3 separate regions of the Homo sapiens genome follow, and all the other regions are linked to region 1. Evidence: promoter capture Hi-C in 16 types of primary human blood cells and fetal thymus (Javierre and others, 2016). All regions are on one chromosome and are shown on one strand. The core of a region is centred on a gene start or on the middle of the fragment in contact, and the rest is flanking DNA. Distances in the headings are between cores, read along the strand shown.

Region 1 (2,700 bases), core at 179-2,678:
AGGTGTGTGTAGGAATGAAAGCACTCCAGGAGTCTTATTTATTATACTTAACCAGTCACATTTTTATTAGCAGCTGGCAGCAACGAGGTCTTCTGAAAGACCAGGCAGCATCAAGAAAGAGAAACAAGAGAGGGTTTGCTAAAGTGAAATGAATTGACATCATCAGGAAATGCAAGCAGCAGTGTGGTAGTCCATGGTTGCTGAAAGGTTATTCTCGGTTAAGAAGGATCTCTTCGTGCCTGGACAAGTTCCCTGGTCAGCACCTGGAGAGAATGTGAAGGTGGAATCAGGGTAAAGTTAGAAAGCAGGCAGCATTTGTACTCGGTGGGAGGCAGGCACCCAGGGATGGCTATGCATTTATAGACAGCCGCAGACCCTCAGAGGAGGTGTGAAGAGGGCTCCATTAACAAAGTGTTGCCTTGCAGAAGCTGGACTCACAGCTGGGTTGGCATGAAGTCGGCAAGCAATTGGAGCCACTACTGGGTGATGTGCCTAAACCAGTCACACAGCAAGCTGATTTGCAGCCACTCTGGTTATAGGAAGGGGGTCCATCACAAGTTGGTTGGCCAGAAATCACAGTGTCACAAGAAGCTGGTTTGCAACAGTTCTTTGTGGAACAAGGGGCCTGGCAGTTAGCCACTGGCTGGTAGATGAAGCATGTGGAAGGAACCAGTTGGCAGTGAGGTGGCTGGCAATGGGAAGGCACACAGCAAGTAGTATTGCAAGAACTGAACACACAAGTCGATGGCTGGCAGGGAACAGGCATGTAGAGGGCTGATTGGCAAGGCTTGAAAATATAGCAGATGGGTTGATAATAAGTTGATTTACAGGGCTGGCCTTCACCACTGACGGGTTGACATGAACTTCCTTGGCACCAAGTTGGTTGGCATGGACTAGCTGTACAGATGGTTGGTAGGCAAGAAGTTTCCGGACAGGAGGTCACTTCAGAGCAGGATGGCTGGCAGGATCCAGCATCACAGCAGACTGATTGGCCACAAGCTGCCTGACATGATCCAGACATGCAGACAGATTCCTGGCAGGAGCTTTGCTGGCAGGGACTGGCATCGCAGCACTTTTCCTGACAACAAGTAGATTCCGAGCAGGATGGCTGACATGAGCTAACCAGACAAGGAGACTGACCAGTGCCAGACTGATAGCAGGCTGCGTGGGAGCACATAGGTTGGCAAACAAAACCCACACAAGACGTTGCTGGAAGGCGGGTAGGTTGACACGAAGCAGGATCACAGCCACTTGGGGCACCAATGGATGGCTGACAGCTTTCTTGGCATGTGACCAGTTGCCACATTCTGCTGTGGCAGGAACTAGGCAAACAGAGAGCATGTCGAAATCCACCTTTAACTGGGTATGTGGTGATGGTGGGCACAGCTGGAATGGCTGTGGTGTTTCCAGGACAACAGCCGTCTGCCATGGTGCTGGTGCTGACCTTGCTGGGAAGTTGCAAGCTCAGTATACCTGCATTGGAAAGACATCCGATACAGAGGGGCTTTTATAGTCCTTCACTAGGGGTGTTGGCACGCCATGCAGCATCTTTCCTTGTTATTGTTTTTACTCATTTGCATGCAAACATCTGATTAGCAGGCTTCAGGAGCCTGGGAGATGTTTCAACTTTGAAAAGGTGTCTGTTGAGTCGGGAGTTTTCTGCGCTGCATTTGGATTCGTTGACACTGCTCCTGCTCTTGGATGAGCTGTCTCTTTTACAGGTTGCTCTCCAGCCTCACTGAAGCAGGCCTTTCCTGGCACTAACCTTTCATCAGGAGGCCTCTGCCAAGCCAGAGTGGCCCTGCTGTTCCTCCAGGAATGCAGCTTTGCACCATTCAATCAGAAATGAAGCCTTGACCCAGTTTGGGGAGAGGATGTCAAGACGGGAAATGGAAAATTAGTCCAAGGAACCCAGGGACACTTAAGTGCCTCTACCTCTTTTTAAAACCTTCCCATTTATCATTCCTGAAACTTGTTTACTAGTACTATTACTAATAATAACAATAGAAATGGCTTTCATTTATTGCATAGTTACTAGATCAAGTCCTTGGCTGCATTTTTCACTGGATCCTCACAATGACTTCAGTAAGTATAATTGTCATCACTATGTTAGAAGTGGCAAAACTAAAAAAAAGTAATAAATAAAGAAGAAACCAGGTTTAAAACAAAGTTAAGATTAAAATATAAAACTTCATTGGCCCTTTTAGGAAGCTTAAAATCTCCCCCAAATTGGTTCCTCTCAAGATTTTTTTAGAACAGAAAAGAAGAAAACAGAAGTGGCAAAACTCATAGAGTTTAAATCATGTTCCCAAAATTATGCAAATGAAAAGGGGTAGAAACAAAATTCAAACCTAGCTTTGTCTGACCACCAAACCCCTGATCTTAACCACCTATTAGACCCCCTGACTTTGGGGAGGCAGGGAGAAGGCGACACTGATATAGTGGCTGCAGGCTGACACCCCTATGGCAACAGACTGGCTCGTGAGCAGGTTGCCCAGGCCCCATCCTGGGGATCCTCCGCCCACTCCAGTGACTGTAATCAGCAGCTAGACCACACTGGTGTGAGTACTTACCTCTACTTATCAATACACTCAAACACAGTCTTTTAATTTTGGAAATTTTTTAAACTACCAAATATTTCATCAGGAAGTATCAAACCCACCCTAGGGCATCAATAGCATATGAATTCTATACAAATAA
Region 2 (2,700 bases), core at 193-2,692, 560 kb before region 1:
TTTAGAAATTGTGTAGTTTAAATAATAAATAATAGTAAAACATACCTGTATCTTAGAGACCCTGCTGTTTCTCCCCAGTGATATCTCCCCTATTACTGCTCAGGTGTCATCACTATCCTGAGTTTTCTTTATTACTTGCTGTGAAATAATAAGAAATATATAGTTGGCCTTTGTCTCTATTTCCTGGCACACAGCTTCTAAAATCCTTGTAATTTCCTCAGTGATAGAAGCATCTTTTCTTGTCCTGACCCAGAGCTCCTAAATCCTTTGAAATTTCTTGTGTGATAGGAGCATCTTTGGTTCTAATGAGGTGACTCTTGGTGGGCCGCTAAGTAGCTTTAGGATGGGGGCTGGCTGCCAGAAAGACCAAACCTTGATGAGAAGCCTAGACATTTCAGCCCTAACCCTTCCCCACCCTCCAGAGAGGGGACAGAGGCTGGAGACTGAGTTAATAATCGATCATGCTTACATGATGAAACCTCAATAAAAGCTTCTAAATGAGGGGGTTCAGAGAGTTTCTGGATTGGTGAACACATCAAGGTGCTGGGAGGTGGCCCACCCGGACAGGGCATGGAAGCTCCGTGTTCCTCGCCCCTGACCTTGCCCCGGGCATCTCTTGTATTCAGCTGTTGCTGAGTTGTATCCTTTATAGTAAACCCACAATAATAAGTAAAGCACTTACCTGAGTTCTGTGAGTCATTCTAGAGAATTATTGAACTTTGCGGAGGGGGAGGTTGTGAGAACCCTGAATTTGTAGCCATGTCAGACAGAAGTGTGGGTAACCTGCGGGCCTGATACTTGTGGCTGGTATCTGATGTGAGGACAGTCTTGTGGGACTGAGCCTTTAGACACGTGGAGTCTGACACTAACTCCAGGGTGTTAGTGTTAGAATTGAATTGAATTGTAGGACACTGAGTTGGTGTCAGAAGGGAAGAAAACCTTTCACCTGCCTTTAAAAAAGGTTTTGCTATCTACATATGCACCTCTAAACAATATCTTGTTTAGTTTTTCTATTTGGAACTTTATACAATGGAATCCGCCTTATGCACTCTGCTGGGACTTGCTTCCTTCATTTGGCTTTATGATTCTGTAACTCATCATTGTTGATGTGTGCGGCAGTTGTAGGTTGATTCTCTGGGAAGCAGAGTCAGAGCTGAGTTCAGTGTGCAGGGTGCTTATTAAAGATTGCCCTGGGATCAATACCTGTGGAAGGGGAGAAGAAAGCAGGATTGGGCACAGGTAGAAAGTGAGCTTCCATGAGGAGCTCTGGAGCTCAGTATTGTCCTGAGTGGGGCCAAGATGGCCAAGCCTTTATACTTCTGTATCAATTATTCATTGGATGTAGGGTGTGAACTCAGGTGAGGTGACACTGCAGCTGAAGCAACCCCTGAGGGGCTGATGGCTGAGGACTGCCTGCTGCCAATACCTATGCAGCTGGGATGAAAAGCTCTCCATTGGAAGCCTGCTGGATCTGGGTAGCCAGTGGGATCACAGCATCACCACAGGGGTTTATAGTCCATTATTTTCCACTGTTGGATAGCATTTTTTGTTATAGACTTCACTTTATTTATCCATCCTACCATTGATGGCTAGTATTTGGATTGTTCCTAGTTTTTAACTACTATGAACAATGTTGCATGAACATTCTTGGACATGTCTCCTGGTGCACCTGTGTAAGGGTCTTTCCAAGTTTTAGACCTCCTTAATCTGTTTGGTCTACTGTAACAAAATGCCATACACTAGGTGGCTTATAAACAACAGAGATTTATTTCCCACAGTTCTGGGGGTTGGGAAGTTCAAGATCAAAGTGCTGGCCACTTTGATGTCTGATCAGAGTCCACTTCCTTGTTCATAGATGTCACCTTCTGTGCCATGTAACACTGTGTCCTCACAAGGTGGAAGGGCAAGGGAGTTCTCTGGGTCTCTTTATTAAGGGTACCATTCTCAATCATGAGGCCTCCACCCTTATGACCTAATCACTTCCCAAAGACCCCACCTCCTCATACCATCACCTAGGCTTCCACATAGAAATTTTGGAAGATTGTAAATATTCAACCCACTGCATAGAATATGCATATATCCAAGTTGATTAGGTGAAACCGAATTTTCGAAGTTCAGAGTTACAACCTCACAAAAGTATGAGTTTCTGTTGCTCCACATACTCATATATATTTGATACAGGAAGACTTTTTGATACTTGACAAGTTGGGAAGTGTGAAATGGAAGCTAACTGTGATTTTTAATGTGCATTTCTCTGGTTACTAATAAGATTGAGTATATTTCATGTTTATTGAATGTATGGATTTCCTCTTCAGTGAGGAGCTTGTTCAAATTTTTGTGCCATTTTTAATAGGGCTGTCTCTTTTTATCCTTTATCCTCTTTTATGCTTCTCTTAAGCTTATCTATGTGTCTATCCATCTATCTACTTACCTACTTACCTACCTAATTTTTTCTCTCTGTGCTGAAGTCTGGATAATTCCCTCATTCTACTTTTCAGTTTACTAATTCTTTCTCCCACTGTGTCTAATCTACTATTGGATCTAAACATTGATATTTTAAATGTTATTTCTTACCTATATCTAGAAGTTTATATTTGGTTCTTTTCAAATATCCTTAGTCATTCTTCATAGTGTTTTGGATTCTGCTTATATTTTCAAAGTTTTAGTTTTAAAAGTATATTGATCATTTTTTATGCTCTA
Region 3 (2,700 bases), core at 76-2,575, 600 kb before region 1:
CTGGTATATTTAGGACTACATCTTTCTGCAAAAAGATAACAGTCTGCACATTTATTGGACTAGGCACAGGAACCTGTTTTACAGGACATAGTCCTCTGCATATTTCTGCTACTTTGTTAGATCATTATCTCATGAGCTTTTTCAGAAAATAGTGCAAAAATTGTATTTCACTTCCAAAAAAGTCTTTAAAAATATATTTCCCATACAAAAGTGGCTAAACATTTTAGATTCTACTACATTCTTATGTAATGTTTGCACCAGATTTTCTGGGAAGAAAAATAATACTAAAGAATATTTAAATCTTGTAAGACAATAAAATGTGTCAGTCTGTCAGAATTCATCATAAATAATTAGATTAAACTAATGTTGACTCACTGCCACCATTCTTATATATAAATGATAATTAGCTGCCTGGTGTTGTATAAGTTTTACTGTTATGTAGAAATACTGAAACTGAGATGGAAACAGAAAATTAATGTGATTGGACATCACATAAGGTACTATAATAATTAAGACACATCAGGTCCCACTTTGCATATGTAACAAGCAAATATGTTTTCAAATAATTTCTTAAAATTTTCATTATAGTACATGATCTGAAAAGAAGTGAAAGATCCACAAATAATAGAAACTCAGGCACAGATAGTCTCACCTGGTTTCTGAGATCTTCAATTATTGAATAGTATTTGCTATAATCTCTTCCCGATCCACCGTCTCCAGACCCAGGCCCATATTTGTCATACCACTCCTTGATTTTGTTCTCCAGATCAGTGTTAGCCTCCTCCAGGGCTCTGACCTTGTCTAGGTAATTGGCCAAGCGGTCATTGAGGTTCTGCATGGTTTGCTTTTCCCCTCCAGAGAAAAGCCCCCCATCGCCAACACCACCTCCCATACCACCACCATAGCTGTAGAAGCCTCCAGTAGCACCACTGCTGAATCTAGAACTCCCACAGAATCCAGAACCCCTGCCAAATCCAGAGACCCCGCCAAAGCTAGAACCCCCACCAAATCCTGTCCCAGAGCCTGAAGCTCCCCCAAAACCACCCCCTACTGAGCAGCTACCAAAGCCCCCTCCAAAGCTGCCCCCAAAAGCACCGCTAGACCCCCCACTCAGGCTGCAGCTGCTGGCTCCTCCTCGGAAGCCCTGGGCCGAGCTGCCCCCCAGACCACATCTGCTTCCACTGCTGAAGCTGCTTCCACCAGCAGACACCCTGGCTGAGCTGCTGCCTCCAGCCCTGGAGGAGGAGGCGCGAGACGAGCAAGACATGGTGCTCCTGCAAACATGAGCTTGTCCAGGCGAATAGGAGAGGTGATGACGAAGAGTGTATTCAAGGCTGCCTTTTTGGCCTTTATATACACACTTCGAGGGTGTTCCTTTTCTCTGTCACTTCTTAATCCCTGTTACAGTTTTGGTAATCCGTAATTGGATAATTTCTGTTTCTTGAACACTTCTCTGAAGCTAGGTCAGAGCCCTGGGACATTTACTATATCAATAAAAAAAGAATAAAGTGGAGCAAAACAAAAAAATTTTCAGAATTACAGTTTTAATCTTTCAGAGGTTTTGATGATTGGTAACTTTTCTCTGGAAGTGTAGTTCTATTAAATTTGCTTCATGATTTCACATTTGCAGAGAATATCTCCAGGTTAACAAATGTAATTAAAATACTTAATATGATGAGAATAAAAATTTCCCATCAATCATGTAACTTTTTTGTTCATATTGTTCTCAAAAGTTGAAATTAGCTTTCACATCAGCAATAATTTCAGATTTGATTAAGCATCCATCTCTTTGATTATTTCAATCAGCGTGTTTTTTAAGGTTGTTGAAGTTTGTGATTTTAAGTTATTGCTTTCTTTTTTTGTATTTTGTATAATATACAAAAAAGCATATAATTTGTAACAATTATGTTTTATAGTTCATAAGAAAAACATAAATAATAGTTTTCTAGGTAAGTATTATTACATCTCAGCAACATGTTTATTCAAGTAGCTAATGTCTAAGAAAGATTGAAAAGCTTTTAGGCAGATTGTTTTAATACGATTTTCTTTCTGGTTGAATTCTAGTCTGATATAAAGACAGCAACTTCCTTTTTGAGTCAAATTTCAAGAAATGAAGAGATGATGCAGATATCTCCTGCCTTCGTTTTAAAGATAAAAGAGGATTTGTATCTACTTCTGATAACTAGTGTTACAATTGGAGTTATTTTATAGATTCTGAACCCTCCTGAGCTCCCTTTGTGCTTCATGGCTTTTTGTCCCTTTGTATTTTAGACTGTTTCCATTCATGTCTTCTAGTCACTTCACCGGTTTAATAGTGTCTTTTTGAAAGACAGATACTGTATAATTCCAGTACTATGAGGTGCCTAGAGTAGTCAAATTCACAGAGACAGAAAGTAGAATGGTAGTTGCCAGTGGCCGAAGGGTTGGGGATAGACAGTTGTTGCTTACTGGGCATAGAATTTTAATTTTGCAATATGAAAAGAGTTTGGGGCCAGGCGTGGTGGCTCACACCTGTAATCCCAGCTCTTTGGGAGGCCGAGGCAGGTGGATCACCTGAGGTCAGGAGTTCGAGACCAGCCTGGCCAAGATGGTGAAATCCCGTCTCTACTAAAAATACAAAAAATTAGCCAGGCATGGTGGCAGGCGCCTGAAATCCTAGCTACTTGGGAGGCTGAGGCAGAGAATTGCTTGAACCCGGGA

Evidence for each region. The method cuts DNA at HindIII sites, captures the fragments that hold promoters and counts their contacts. A CHiCAGO score of 5 or more calls a contact.
Region 2: a fragment that was not itself captured here is called in contact with the fragment with the promoter of KRTAP29-1 in region 1 in 1 of 17 cell types (endothelial precursors); the score reaches 5.2 in endothelial precursors.
Region 3: a contact is called between the fragment with the promoter of KRT24 here and the fragment with the promoter of KRTAP29-1 in region 1, in 1 of 17 cell types (erythroblasts). The highest score is 5.7, in erythroblasts.

Annotation. Positions count from the first base shown.
Region 1 is chr17:41,301,423-41,304,122 of GRCh38, forward strand. It overlaps KRTAP29-1 (keratin associated like protein 29-1), which reads right to left and starts at 1,429. Exons shown (of 1, transcript NM_001257309.1): 1 at 404-1,429. The coding sequence starts at 1,429. The coding sequence ends at 404. The HindIII fragment of the contact is 6,603 bases long and covers 1-2,209 here.
Region 2 is chr17:40,740,554-40,743,253 of GRCh38, forward strand. No RefSeq gene overlaps it. Among named protein-coding and RNA genes, the nearest start is that of KRT25, 13 kb to the right of the region's middle. The HindIII fragment of the contact is 1,908 bases long and covers 489-2,396 here.
Region 3 is chr17:40,702,427-40,705,126 of GRCh38, forward strand. It overlaps KRT24 (keratin 24), which reads right to left and starts at 1,326. Exons shown (of 8, transcript NM_019016.3): 1 at 653-1,326. The coding sequence starts at 1,267. The HindIII fragment of the contact is 6,314 bases long and covers 1-2,013 here.